Regions from separate parts of the Homo sapiens genome. Here region 2 is linked to region 1. Evidence: promoter capture Hi-C in human tissues and cell types (Jung and others, 2019). All regions are on one chromosome and are shown on one strand. The core of a region is centred on a gene start or on the middle of the fragment in contact, and the rest is flanking DNA. Distances in the headings are between cores, read along the strand shown.

Region 1 (7,342 bases), core at 3,045-5,544:
ATGTTATTTCTGCATAGTGAATTATAAGTGGGTTTTATTTTCTTATGTTTTCCTGTATTTTTTTTTCAAATTCTAACCAACAATTTCTAATACTTTTGCAATAAGAAAAACAAGTATAGGGCAAGTGCAGTGGTTCACACCTGTAATTCCAGCACTTTGGGAGGCCAAGGTAGGCAGATCCCTTGAGGCCAGGAGTTTGAGACCAGCCTGGCCAACATGATGAAACCCCGTCTCTACCAAAAATACAAAGAAATTAGCTGGGCGTGGTGGCACACACCGGTAATCCCAGCTACTCAGGAGGCTGAGGTGGGAGGATCGCTTGAACCTGGGAAGTGGAGGTTGCAGTGAGCCAAGATCGCACCACTGCACTCCAGCCTGGGTGACAGAGCGAGACTCTGTCTCTAAATAAATAAATAAGAGTGTGTTGATCTTGATGGAGCTTATGTTGAAAAATAACATTTTTTAAAAGTATAGAAAGAAAAATAAGAAATGAAAATAGGACATTTTCAGACCAGAAAAAGACTGTTGCAGTGGTCAAGATGTGTAATAGAGAAGGTTGGCTGGACATAGTAGCAAAAGGTTAAAATGGAGCTCATGGAAACATGCATGAAATCATTTCACAATAAAAAATGAACTGAGGATGCCTGTGTGCCAGGCTCTGTTCTAGGCCCCAGAGGATACAGGTAAATAAAATAGGCCAGGTCTATGCCCTCCTGGAGCTTACATGGTAGGGAGACAGATAATAACCAAAAATAATTAAAAGATAATAATAGCTAGGATTTATGCCGAGTTATATGAGTCAGGCACTATTCTAAGCACTTTACAGATATTGATTGGTTCCTCCTACAAAACAGCTTAATGAACTAGGTGCTACTATTATCTCCAAGCTACAGAAAACCGGGACACAGAGCAGTTGAATTTCCTATTCAAGGTTAAGCAACTAATCCTAGTTCAGCAACTCCAGGATTTGCATGGCAGTGGCATAGCCTAACTCCAGGGCCTACACACTTAACCACCAAACCAGTAAGGCCCAGACTTACATCATGATAAGAATTACCTGGGGCACTTTTGAGATATTTGCAGATTACCAAGTCTTACCCCAGAAAATTCTGATGCAGTAAGCATAGCTTGGAACCCAAGAACTCATTCTTTAGTGAGCCTTCCAGATGATGCTTCTCTTCAGGCAAATGTGAGATATATTGCTCTCAACAAAAGGAATCGTGACAATAAAAGTTAGAATGGTGACCTCTGCAAGATTGGATAGTAGGAATAGTATTATTTTATTTATTTATAGTTTTTTGAGACAGTCTCGCTCCATCACCCAGGCTGGAGTGCAGTGGCTCCATCTCAGCTCATTGCAACCTCCGCCTCCTGGGTTCAAACAATTTTCCTGCTTCAGCCTCTGGAGTATCTGGGATTACAGGTGTGCGCCACCAAGCCTGGCTAATTTTTGTACTGAAGAAAATGGGGTTTCACTATATTGGCCAGGCTGGTCTAGAACTCCTGACCTCAGGTGATCCGCCCACCTCGGCCTCCCAAAGTGCTGGGATTACAGACATGAACCACCTTGCCTGGCCAGAATAGTATTATTGGCTGGGAAGGTGCATGAGGGAGCCGACCAGGGCTGGAAATGTGTGTCTTGGAAGGGGACTTCCCAGGTGTGCACATATGTAAACATTCATCAAGCAATAAAAAATAAATATTGCCGTAAGCTGCGGTGCTCTGCTGGGTCATGTTAGCTAGACAGGTATCATGAAGGTGATGTCGCAGAGTCGCAGGGAGAGTGAATACTTTAGGTAAGACATAGGAAAGGTCTCTCTGGGAAGGCGACATTTCATTTGATGCTGGATGACCTAAAATAGCCAGTCCTGCAAAGACCAGGAAAGCAATCCAGGCAGAGGGAGGAGCAACAACAGCAAGGAGCCTGGTGGAGCTGCCTGGGCAATGCAGGGTGAGAGTGGTGTGATCTGCAGTGGGACTGGCAGGCCACAGCCAGTTACATCTAGCTCATTCCTGCCCCAGGGTTTTTGCTCCCACCAGTTCCTCAGGCTGGAATTGCTCCCCCCTCATCCTCACATGGCTGCATCCTCCCCGGCTCCTTGTTCAGATATTACCTGCTCGGAAAGGCCTGCTATGACCAGTTCTACAGCCACTATTACAGCCCCATTTTATGGTCTTTGGAGCCCTTATCACTAGCAAAATGTTGAGAACACATGGACACAGGAGGGGAACATCACACACCAGGGCCTGTCAGGGGGTGGGGGGCAACGGGAGGGAGAGCATTAGGACAAATGCCTAATGCATGTGGGGCTTAAAACCTAGGTGATGGGTTGATAGGTGCAGCAAACCACCATGGCACATGTATACTTATGTAACAAACCTGCACGTTCTGCACATGTATCCCAGAACTTAAGGTTAAAAAAAAAAAAGGAAGTTTTATATATATTTTTTATATATATAAATATATAATATATAATATATAATATTTTATATATAATATATATTGTATATATTTATATATAATATATATATACATAAATATAAATATATATTAAATATATTAAATATTATATATTAAATATATATATATTTACAGTACTGATTTGATTATTTCATGTTGACTGCCTCCCTGGTCTACCTCCAGCAGCTAGCCCAGTGCCTGGCACTTCACAAACACTTGAGAATAAACAGCTGCTGCAGGCAGAAACCAAGCCTTAGAGGCAGCAGCAGGGAAAATCCCATTCATTATACAAGCCATATTTACTAAGCCTACTATGTGTCAGGCACCAGCCAAGTCACTGGACTACATCAGTGAAGCAAAGAGATTTTTTTAATCCCCATTTTTACAGGGACTTACTGAAAATAAGGGGGAGGAGAACACAGATAATATACAACTAAATTATATCTAAGCAGATATACTCGAGATACATAATATGTTCCATCTAACACCTTTTAAGGACAAAGCAGGCCAGGCATGGTGGCTTACACCTGTAACCCCAGCACTTTGGGAGGCTGATGGAGGATCGCTTGAGGCCAGGAATTCGAGACCAGCCTGGGCAACATCTCTACAAAAATAAAAATTAAAAAGTGAGCCAGGGTGGTGGCCCACGCCTGTAGGGGGGATTGCTTGAGCCCAGGAGTTGGAGGCTGCAATGAGCTAGGATCCGACCACTCTTCCAGCCTGAGAGACAGAGAAAGACCCCCTCTCTAAAAAAAGAAAGGGAGAAAGAGAGAGAGGCAGAGAGAGAGAAAGAAAGAAAAGAAAAGAAAAGAAAAGAAAAGAAAAGAAAAGAAAAGAAAAGAAAAGAAAAGAAAAGAAAAAGAAAAAGAAAAAAACAGGAAGGAGACAGGGAGTGGTTGGGGGAGGAGGAGGGGGCTGCAATATTAGAATGATTAGATTAGGCCAAGCATGGCCTCCCTGAGTGTGAATTTGAATGCTGACCTTCAGAAGCAGGACAGACTCTATGGGCAAATCCCTCGAGGCTGGGAGAGGTCTGAGGCTTGGGAGGGTCGGCAGAGAGACAATAGGGCTGACGCAGGAGCCCGGGGGAGACAGTAGTAGTAAGACATGAGGGACAGAGCAGAGAGGTCACTGTCCTCAGAGTGTGGACGCCGACCAACACTAGGGGCATCACCTGGGAACTTAGAAATGCTCGTTCTCACGCCTCGCCCCAGACCTACTGAAGCAGAAACGCTAGGGTGGGCCCAACAGCGTGTGTTCTAACAAGCCTTTCAGGCGACTGCGATGCACGATAAAGTTGGCAGCTCCTGGAGCAGGGGTCCCTCCGCGCTACGACCCCACCTCTTCGCGGTCCTCTCAGTCTCCCTAGCGGGGCAAGGGACCCGCCCAGCGCTTTGCTGATTTGCCCAGCGCTCACGCCCAACCTGGGTTTCTCCGGAGCTCGCCGCGCCCCGCGCACCCACCCCGCAACGGCAGCCGCACGTGGGTCTCCCCGCAAACCACCCAGGCGTCCCGGGAGCAGCGCTGCTGCACGGCCGCGCTGGGGGCCCAACGCCTGGGGTTGCAGGTGCAAAAGGCGCCCCGAGCCGGGGAGGCCAATCGCGTCCGCGGAGAACGCAGAGTGCGGGCAGGGGCGCATCCCTCGCCACCCGCGGTCGCCCAGCACGCCGGGACGCGCGTGGCCATCCAGCTCCCCGGGGGCGTTGGGGGGCTCCGCGGGCCTGGGCCTCGGGATTCGCCCGCCGCTTCCCCGGGGAGCCGCTGCTGCAAAGCCAGGTTGGGGCGCCGGGCCCGGCCAGCGCCCTCTAGGCAGCGGAAGTGCAGCTTGCTTTACATCCGTCCTCCCCGCCTCGCAGAGTTGGGAGAAGGCAGGGTGGGGGGTGTGGAAAAATAAAAGGAAAAGTCCTTGCACCATGTAGATCAGCGTCCCCCACTTTGGCATCCCGGCCGGCCGGGGACCTCCCAGTCTGCGGCCATGAACGCGAGCAGCGAGGGCGAGAGCTTCGCGGGCTCGGTGCAAAGTAAGTGCTTTTCCGGGAGCAGTGCGCGCTCCGGGGCCCAGTGCGCGCTCCGGGGCCCGGGCCCAAGCACGTCTGCGACGCAGCCAGCAGGCCCGGGGCCCCGAAATCGGGGTGACGGCTCGGAGCCGCGTCTCGGGGACCGCGGCGGGCGCGCTGTGCAGGGGGCGCCGGAGTGGGCTTGGGGTGGGGGCGCACCCGACCTGGCGCAAGACCGGGGGCGCTCTCCAGCCTTGCGAGACCCCTTGGAAGGGAACAGTGGGGGAGGGCACGCCGTTCAGACAATCGCCACCCCCTAAGGGCATTCCCGCCCCATCAGGCGGAGTTTGGGGCGGGCAGGAGAAAGGGAGGAATCTAGGGTAAACGGGGCAACACTGATGGGAAAACTTCTGCCTCAGTGGCTCAAAATTAGAGCCTGGAGATTGGGGGAATCACCAGGTCTCACGAGGTCCTGCCGGCTCATTGCAAAGCCTTTTCCTCATTAAGGGTGGAGATCTGAATGGAAAACGGGGCCGTGGTCGCTTTATTTGGGTTTGGGGTTCAGTTTTTATTTAACCGAGGAGGACATCAGCGTTTTTCAAGTCCCTGGTTTCTCCCGGTGCATTGTTTCCCAAAGTGTGGTCCAGAGACTGAGTGCAACCAGCCACCTGGGAGCGAGAGCGTGTATTTTAAAACAGCTTTCTGGGCCCCACCCATTCAATCTCGGGGGTGGGGCTGGGGATCCGCTGTCCTTCGTAGCTGCCTGGGCAACTCTGAAGCACATGAAGTTTGAGAACCCATCTACCAGGGGTTTGCAGAAAATCTGGCACATAGTAAGCTCCCAGCTTGTTAGCTGCTACTGTTAACAGTTTGGGAGACACTGGGTCCCAAACTTGGCGGTGTATTCCTTGCATTACTGTGAAAAGCACAGATTTTCCTAAACACCATCCTCCCCACCCCACCCTGTTATGACTCAGTATCTCCTAGGTGGGGCTCAGATATGTCCATGTTTAAATAGTGTACCTCAGTAAGAACCCAGCAGGTAACATGCTGGGGGACTGGCGGGGAGGGGGGACTGTGCTGGTACGAGCACCATCCCATTTAATTCTCATAACAAGCCCGTGTTTTTTCTTGGAGAAATTAAAAACAAACAAAAACCATGGATTAGAAACCTCTCCTCCCATTTTTCAGATGAGAAAACCCACGCTTAAAGTCACTGTTGTTAAGCGACAGTGTCAAGATTCTAACGAAGGTCTATGTCGTTACTTTTGCACTTTCCACATACCAGTGACATTATCTGTTATGAAAATCCTTTCATTCTGGGTGTCAGTCCTATTCCATCATTAAGGAATCGTCAGCAATGCAAGCTACTTCATGTCTCACTTCCTTGTTTCCTTGTTAGTTCCATGGGTATCTCAGTATCTGCCAGAGAAGAAAAGGTTTCCTTCCTTCCATCCATTGATTGCAAAGTGCTTAAGTGTATCCCTGCAAGATGGCTTATCACAGTGCTCAGCCCAGTCTCCTTAGCAAGTCAACCAAACTGTATTTCTGAACAGAGATTTCTTGTCTTAGCTAGACCTGGGGAAAATTGGACATAATGTAAATATCTTACAAATTTTCAGAAAATTATGAGGCATAATTTTATCTAACCATATATGCACAAAGGTAGTCTTGTATCATTTAACTTGGGAAAAATTGGAAATTATGTAAATACCTTATTGTTGCTGAGAAGATTATGACGCATGGACACCATGGAATAATGTATTGCCATTAAATAATCATATATATATGAAGAGATTTTAATGATATAGCACAATGTTTATGCAATGTTTAGGAAAAAGGGCCAGGCACGGTGGCTCACGCCTGTAATCCTAGCACTTTGGGAGGCTGAGGCGGGCGGATCACATGAGGTCGGGAGTTCAAGACCAGCCTGACCAACATGAAGAAACCCCATTTCTACTAAAAATTCAAAATTAGCCTGGCGTGGTGGTGGCGCTTGTAATCCCAGATACTCCGGAGGCTGAGGCAGGAGAATCGCTTGAACCTAGGAGGCGGAGGTTGCAGTGAGCTGAGATCGTGCCCTTGCACTCCAGCCTGGGCAACAAGAGCAAAACTCCATCTCAAAAAAAAAAAGGAAAAAAATTAGGAAAAGGATTAGTTTTACAATACTATGATCTGAATATTTACAATATTATGATCTTATGCAATTTTTTTTTTTTTTGAGATGAAGTCTCGCTGTCACCAGGCTGGAAGTTCAGTGGCATGATCTTGGCTCACTGCAACCTCCACGTCCCAGGTTCAAGCAATTCTCCTGCCTCAGCCTTCTGAGTAGCTGGGATTACTGGCACGTGCCACCACACCCAGCTAATTTTTGTATTTTTAGTAGAGACGGGGTTTCACCATGTTCGCCAGGATAGTCTTGATCTCTTGTTGTGATCCACCCATCTCGGCTTCCCAAAGTGCTGGGTTACAGGCGTGAGCCATCTTACGCAACTTTTAAGTGTAAAGAAAATGAATGGAAAAAAATATTTTATAATATTCATGGTAGGCAGAGATGGAAATATTGAGTGATTTTCCCCTTCTTTATAAGTTTCTTCTAAATTTTCTTATAAACACGAGTTATCTTTTTTTTTTTATGTGAGACGGAGTCTCGCTCTGTCGCCCAGGCTGGAGTGCAGTGGCACAATCTCAGCTCACTGCAACCTGCGCCTTCCGGGTTCAAGCAATTCTCTTGCCTCAGCCTCTCTAGTAGCTGGGATTACAGGTGTGTGCCACCACGCCGGGCTAATTTTTTTTGTTTATTTTTAGTAGAGATGGGGTTTCACCATGTTAGCCAGGATGGTCTCGCTCTCCTGACCTCATGATCTACCCGCTATGTCTTTAT
Region 2 (7,342 bases), core at 3,175-5,674, 1.3 Mb after region 1:
GAAATTCCTTTTTTATCTTGGCCTTTGTTGAAAAATTTCCTGAGACTAGCTTATTAGGAGCTATATATTGAAACTAACCTCTTTGATTTTGGTTTTTATAGTTCCTGTATAGAAAATATAGGAGATTGGGCTGAAAATCTCTTAATGACCCTTGGCCCTTCCAACCTTGGAAGTCATTGATTTTATACATGCCCACTGTGAATTTGCTTTGCTTTGCTTAAGTTTATCTTTTTCTCCTTATACCAGAGTGCAGGAAGAGTTTTAATACTATTTATATTAAAATAAGAACTTCACAACCTTGAACAGATGGTTTTGGTACCACTTGCAAGTAACCAACCAGTAGGCTTTTATCAGGCAAAAATGGCTTATTATTTATATTTGATTATTAAAAGTATAGGTATATAAGGCATACTATGTGAAGTTGTTGCTTTCCTTGTAACTACTTACACGTTTTGAAAGTATTAAAAAGTTAGTATTTTGAAAACTAAAATACTCAAGTTTATTGATTAAATAAGATGATGCTGGCTACAAATTTTATTTTGAAAATTGCAACTTAATAAGGAAGATAAAGCTGTTTTGTAAAGGAGAAAGTAGAGATTGATACTTCATAGGGTAAAAAAAAGAAAAACTTCAGCATTTATGTTTCTTCTTTTGAGAATCATATATAAGTAACAAAACTGCATAAATTGCAATAGACCTAGGTCACTTGATTTCACAATTGGGTGTGTGTATGTATGTACACATACATATAAAATATATGTAGGTTTTCTAGAGCTGGAAATGATTGTCATATTATTAAATACAGATGAAAAGTTCAAGTATCACGTGTAGTTTGGGGAAAGTACATTTAGTTTTGAGATGTAGTTTGGGGACAATACATCTAAGTGTAGTAAAAAAATACCAGAATTAAACTTTATGTATGTATTTTTTCCAAGTAACCTATTTAAATCTTAGTGAAATAAAGATTTTTAAAGTAATATGAAAGAAAAAAATAGGAAGTTTTTATTTTACAACATTAGAAGCATTATTGTGGTTTACACCAAAGTACCCATGACTGTTGTGTAAATAAGCTACTTGTTCAACCTGGAGTTCCAAAGGAGTTTTTAAAAGAGCATCATAAAGTCAGTTATGTCTTACATAAGGTAAAATAACTTTCAGTGGGAGTTTAACCTTCATTCTCTTGACTGAGAGGCATGTACATTAAGAGAAACATTGCTCCCCTATGTGTAAATAATTTAATTATAGTTGGATTCACAGAGCTTGACTTGTTATTAGCATCGTATAAACTTAAAGTTTTTCCTCCCCTAGTTTTTGTGTGTTGTTTGTTTGTTTGTTTGAGACAGTCTTGCTCTGTCTCCCAGGCTGGGGTGCGGTGGCCCAATGTCGGCTCACTGCAACCTCTGCTTCCCGGGTTCGAGTGATTTTCCTGCCTCAGCCTCTGAGTGGTTGGGATTACAGGTGCCTGCCACAACGCTTGGTTAATTTTTGTATTTTTAGTAGAGATGGGATTTCGCCATGTTGGCCAAGCTGGTCTTGAACTGCTGACCTCAGGTGATCCGCCTGCCTTGGCCTCCCCAGGTGCTGGGATTATAGGCGTGAGCCACCGCTCCCAGCCCCTCTCCTAGTTTTGTAAGAGCTTGTGATAGTAACTGGAGTAAATGCCGTATTTTGCTGATGTACCTCACTGCCAGTTAACACCTTCTATGTTGTTAGTTTGGAAACTCGGTGTTTGAAACTAGTATAAACCAAAGCCCCATGCTAATTAACTGAATTGATACTTTGAATGTAAAAGCTGTTTCTTGTTTTTACTTTGGCACTTTCCACCTTGATTGTTGAGATACTTTATTTGATAAACCGTCCATGCTTTGCCCATTGTGGGTGGCCATTGTGATTTCATGGTTTTTTGTTGTTTGTCTGATCCTGTTTATTAGAAAGTGAGGAGAGGATGATTATGTTCCTTCATCCTCTCAGTGTCTTAGTACTCCCTACACCTGCGTTATGTTATGACCTACCTTTGCGATCTGCCAGTTTTGGGGTCAGCTTAAGTGAGAATTCATATTCTGCTTCACTGGAATGAGAAGGCTCTCCTCACATATTATCATGCTTCTCAAGTTGGTATATATGAGCCAACTTGATTATGTAGTGTGTGTGTGTGTGTGTGTGTGTGTGTATAGGAAGTCACAGATAAAAATTGAGCCAACTGTGGAAAGTGACAGTTTTGATTGCAGGGCACACGTTTTTTTATTCTAATCAATGAAAAATGCAAAATTCATATTACTGTTTTTAGTCCTGGGTCCTGTCATCTCTGTGTATTAATTCAGTCCTCTGCCTTAAGGAGTTCCTTGAGATTTCACTCACAAGCTTTGGTATTATTGATCCCTACCTTGGTTCCAAGACAGCAGCTAGAGAAAGCCTGGAACCTCTCAAGAATTTCAGCAGTGTTCTGGAAATAAAGATTTAGAAAATAAGAGGAAAGCATAGACAACGTTGGATGGAGTTTACAAAGGGAAGCCTGCTCTGAATATATGCCACAGTTTTAGATTTAAGTTAAAGATTTAATTTAAAAGCATACACGTAATCTAAAAGAGTCATGCATTATTTGACCAGCTGTTAGAATTAAAAATGAATCTGCATATCCTAATACCCTCTTCAGTAAGGGTATAGATTTGTAATTGAGTCACTTAGCTGTGGGTTGTGTTTATATGTCACTTCTCATGTGACTGTGATGACTTTAATAAGGATGTGCTGCTTAAGTGTAAAGGCCCCCTTGCTGGCCTTTATGGTATTATAGTATTGGTGGCTTGTCTGTTTTATTTTCCAAGCACTTTATAAACTATTCCCAATTTTCTCAGGACTATCCTTGTTTCACAAGTAGGGAAATCAAGGCACTACCACATACAATGATGAAATGAGCCACAGAGTATGTCTGGGCTGGTTCCCAGGCCTGTGCTTGCAACACAGGCCTTTATGGTGCTCTTGTAAGCTGTTTGGCTAATGGGGGCTCACATGAATGCTTCCCATTTCACAGTGAGGTTTTATGCTTCCATGTGAGCTTAAACCCAAGGATTCCAATGGCGTCTACATGTAAAGAAGCTAGCCACACCCCCAGCAGGGAGAGTATGGGTGTAAATTGTGCAGGTGGCAGTTAATTGGAGTAGCATATTTCTGCTGGGAAGTTAACTGTATAAGAATCTAAAAAGAAACGTTGTTTATGTTCCCTTTTCTTTTCCCAGTTTTTTAGTTTAAGACAGTCAGTCTGTCCTGAGCAGTTACTTTTTTCTTAGATAATTGCTGGCTTTTACCCTTTCTTTTTCTGAATCCTTCATGCTCCATTTAAGAGCTTGTGGAAACCTGTGCTTCAGTTGACAATCTGTAAAGCTCTGCTCTTCTGGTGGAAGCTCATGACCTGAGAACCTTTTGAGTGGTCTCTTTTGAGAAACTCCTGTCTAGTGGAAATATGGTGGAATTTATTAAAATTTTCAATTCGAATTATAAATTTAGGTTGACAGAATCCTTGCTCTTGTGAAAGAAGTGAGCTGAGACTGGGAGTATCCAAATGCAAGAAGTGCTCAGAATCCTGCTTCAAGATCAGTTACACTTAAAAACAGCAACAAGAGGATGGGTGCGGTGGCTTACATCTGTAATCCCAGCACTTTGGGAAGCCAAGGCTGGCGGGTCACCTGAGGTCAGGAGTTCAAGACCAGCCTGGCCAACATGGTGAAACCCCATCTCTACTAAAAATACAAAAGTTATCCTGGTGTGGTGGCACTCACATGTAGTCTCAGCTACTTGGGAGGCTGAGGCAGGAGAATCACTTGAACCTGGGAGGCGGAGGTTGCAGTGAGCCAAGATGGCACCACTGCACTCTAGCCTGGGTGACAGAGTGAGACTCAGTCTCAAAAAAAAATAAAAATAAAAAACAGCAACCAAAAAAAATGCAAATAAAACTTCTCTGAGGAAAGTGTGAAAACTTGAGCCATCAAGTGGCAAAACCTGGTACAAGAACGCTTTTGAAAAGCTACCTTCGGTGAAGCCTTGATCCTGGGAAATGGCTTCGAAAAACTTGAGAACATAGTTTAAATATTCTGTTACTCAAGAATAGTGAAAGAAATATATTTCCTATTGTGGGAAATTATTTCTGAGTAGTTTCGGTAGAGCATAAAAATGTATTATTAGGGGATCAAAATAACGTTTTATGTCATTTAGATACAAAGACTTGGCATGCTTCTGAAATAATTTATAAATGGACATATCTGCGTGTCCTCTTGTGGTGTTGTGATACATACTGGTTTTCATCCACCACGGTTCCTGGCTCATAACACCCATAACCCCATTACCGTGTTTTGTTATAATATAGGGTACGTTAGGTCTCAGAAAATAATCTCTGATCTTCTCCTGCTCTCCTTACACGTGTCCCAAGGCAAGATTCTGATCTTTACCCAGCTTTCTGATTGTAGGTCTTGAGATCCTCTCTAGAGAGAGGGTGTTGGCCCTATACCCCGGGGAAGGGAAGTAAGGTTTCCTATATGAAGCTTTTATAAAAACCCAGGAGGGCCAGGCGCGGTGGCTCACGCCTGTAATCCCAGCATTTTGGGAGGCTGGGGGCGAGCAAATCACAAGTTTAGGAGTTTGAGACCAGCCTGGCCATCGTGGTGAAACCCCATCTCTACTAAAAATACAAAAAAAATTAGCTGGGTTTAGTGGTGGGGGCCTATAATCCCAGCTACTCAGGAGGCTGAGGCTGGAGAATTGCTCAAACCCGGGAGGCAGAGGTTACAGTGAGGCGAGATTGCACCACTGCACTCCAGCCTGGGGGACAGAGTGAGATTCTGTCTTTAAAAAAAAAAAAAAAAAACGCAGGAGGACTGGGTTCAGAGAGCTTCCAGATAGTTGAACACACCTGGAGGGTGGCGCCCCCAGAGAGGGTATGGAAGCCCAGTGCCCTTACGCATTTCTTTATCTGTACTTTTTATAATAAACCGGTAAACATAAGTGTTTCCCCAAGTTTTGTGAGATGCTCCAGCAAATTAATAGAACTCAAGGAGGGGGTCTTGGGAACCCCAGCTTGAAGTGTCAGTCAGAAGTTCTGGAGGCCCAGACTTACAGTTGGAGTCTGAAGAAGGAGAGAGCAGTTTTGGGGACTGAGCCCCCATCTTGTGGAATATGACACTGTATCCAGGTAGACAGTGTCAGAACCAAATTAGAGGATACTCAGCTGGTGTCCGCTGCTTGGGAAAAAACCCTACACGTTTGGTCACAGAAGACAACTTCACGACTTCTGTGTGGTGTGAGGGCAGAGGAAAAACAAAGTTTGAGAGTTTTCCCCTAAAGCACCCCTTAAGGGCTACTTGTGAATTATTTCCCTTTTTCACATTGATCTTAAGCCAGATTGTCCACTTACAGCGACAGCAAGTGGCTGTATGCCTGTGGAGTTCTTATGTAGGCAGTGGAGTGCTAGAATCACTCTTTATGCTGTGTCCCTGCCTTGCTGCAATACCTGTTTAGAGTGAAGTAAACTGGGAAGTGCTCCTCACCTCACACTCTCCCTAAATCTAAATTGGTATATTATAAAGTATCCTCAGTCTGTTTTTCTTGTTTAAGTACCGAGGCATCTTCCCCCGCTTTCAAATACAATTTTAGGTGAACTCTTAAATTGATGAAGGGTCGGGGGGCCAGACCTCTGGCTGCCCAGCTTTCACCTTGTCCCTCAGGCATCATCTTCCCTCTGTTTGTATACATATCTTAAACTCTTAGAGGAGTTCAGCCTGAAAACAACTGGTTCTACTGGTGTACTGGAAATTCTGGTGGTCACTGCTAGAATTCTTGCCTGAAATCTGAATACGGAAAGTATCAGGATAAGCAGCAACACAGTAGCAGTTTTCCAGTTGTGGGCACCAGTCTTGTAGTCTGAAAATCTTCCTAAAAGACCAGTGACTCCACATATTTTTTAAAACTTAAGATACGCAAAATCTAGATGACACCTTTATGTTTCTACATAACTGTAAGTCACCTGGGTTTATTTAAGATAGTTGCAGATGTTCAGTTGCCTAAATATTTTAAGTGTCACTGAGCTTGTTAAGAATATGCAAACCTGAGTATGAATGGCTCACACAGATGTAAAATATTGTATAAAAACACTACTGTGCATGATGCATTGTAATGTGTACAGGAACAGATGTTGTTATGGCAACCACATCTGATTCTCAGTCATAATAGTTTGAGCTTTTTGGAGAGGTTATGCCCTGGTGTGAACTCAGAATTTTGAAAGTGATTATTTTAGTATCTCATCTGGTTTAAGGTGATAATGGTAACTGACTTAAGCATTAACTTGCATCATCTCATTTAATCCTTCTGCCATTAAAACAATGAGATAGTGTCCTTCTGCTTATGCCATAAGAAAACAGACCTCTAGAGGTTAAATAACATGTGTAGGATCACAAAGCTTGTAAGTGGCAGAGCAAGGATTTAAATACAGATCTGTCTAACTGTAGGGTGGACCACTGCATCTTTATTTTCTAGCAAAGAAAAGCTTTACTGTGCTATGTCACCCTACCTCTTGTTAAGGAGGTTTGAAGTTATAAGGTACAAATTTTTTACATATGGCTGATAGGTAAGTTTTTGTCCAGGAAAATAGTATTATTAGCACAAATTTTGACTTAGGCTATAAGCTTCACCTGTGAACCTTTTCTTTTCCCCTCGTTTTACTCTTACCCCAGTATCCTATTATCTCATACCTAAGGCAGTGATGGTTTCTCAGACCTCTTAGATTGAGAAGATGTGGCATGGGTGTAAGGTCCCTCAGGTAATTCTGAGGGTTGGGTAGGTCTGGTATCTACTCTTTTACTTAATTGACTTCCTCCAGGCTTTTTTTTTTTTTTTAATGGAGTCCAGGCTGGAGTGCAGTGGCGCGATCTCAACCTCTGCCTCCTGGGCGCAAGAAATTCTCCTGCCTCAGCCTCCCGAGTAGCTGGGATTACAGGCGCTGGCCACCACACCGAGCTCATGTTTGTATTTTTAGTAGAGATGGGTTTCACCATGTTGGTCAGGCTTGTCTCAAACTCCTGACCTCAAGTGATCTGTCTGCCTTGGCCTCCCAAAGTGCTGGGATTGCAGGCATGAGCCACTGCTTTCTTTTTCTTTCTTTCTTTCTTTTTTTTTTTTTTTTTTTTTTGGAGGTGGAATCTCGCTCTGTTGCCCAGGCTGGAGTGCAGTGACTGCAACCTCCGCCTCCCGGATTCAAGCAATTTTTCTGCCTCAGCGTCCTGAGTAGCTGGGATTACAGGCGCACACCACCACGCCCGGCTAATTTTTGTATTTTTAGTAGAGATGGGGTTTCACCATA

Evidence for each region. Contacts are between HindIII fragments. The study calls those that stand out against the background at their distance.
Region 2: a contact is called between a fragment that was not itself captured here and the fragment with the promoter of ZFP64 in region 1, in 1 of the 25 tissues and cell types used here (hippocampus).

Annotation. Positions count from the first base shown.
Region 1 is chr20:52,188,731-52,196,072 of GRCh38, reverse strand. It overlaps ZFP64 (ZFP64 zinc finger protein), which reads left to right and starts at 4,294. Exons shown (of 6, transcript NM_018197.3): 1 at 4,294-4,482. The coding sequence starts at 4,437. RefSeq lists enhancers at 3,413-3,542, 4,583-5,439 and silencers at 3,953-4,222, 4,583-4,822. The HindIII fragment of the contact is 31,514 bases long and covers 1-7,342 here.
Region 2 is chr20:50,920,092-50,927,433 of GRCh38, reverse strand. All of the region lies in intron 2 of ADNP (activity dependent neuroprotector homeobox), which reads left to right. Among named protein-coding and RNA genes, the nearest start is that of ADNP-AS1, 7.2 kb to the left of the region's middle. RefSeq lists enhancers at 984-1,484, 1,485-1,985. The HindIII fragment of the contact is 7,393 bases long and covers 728-7,342 here.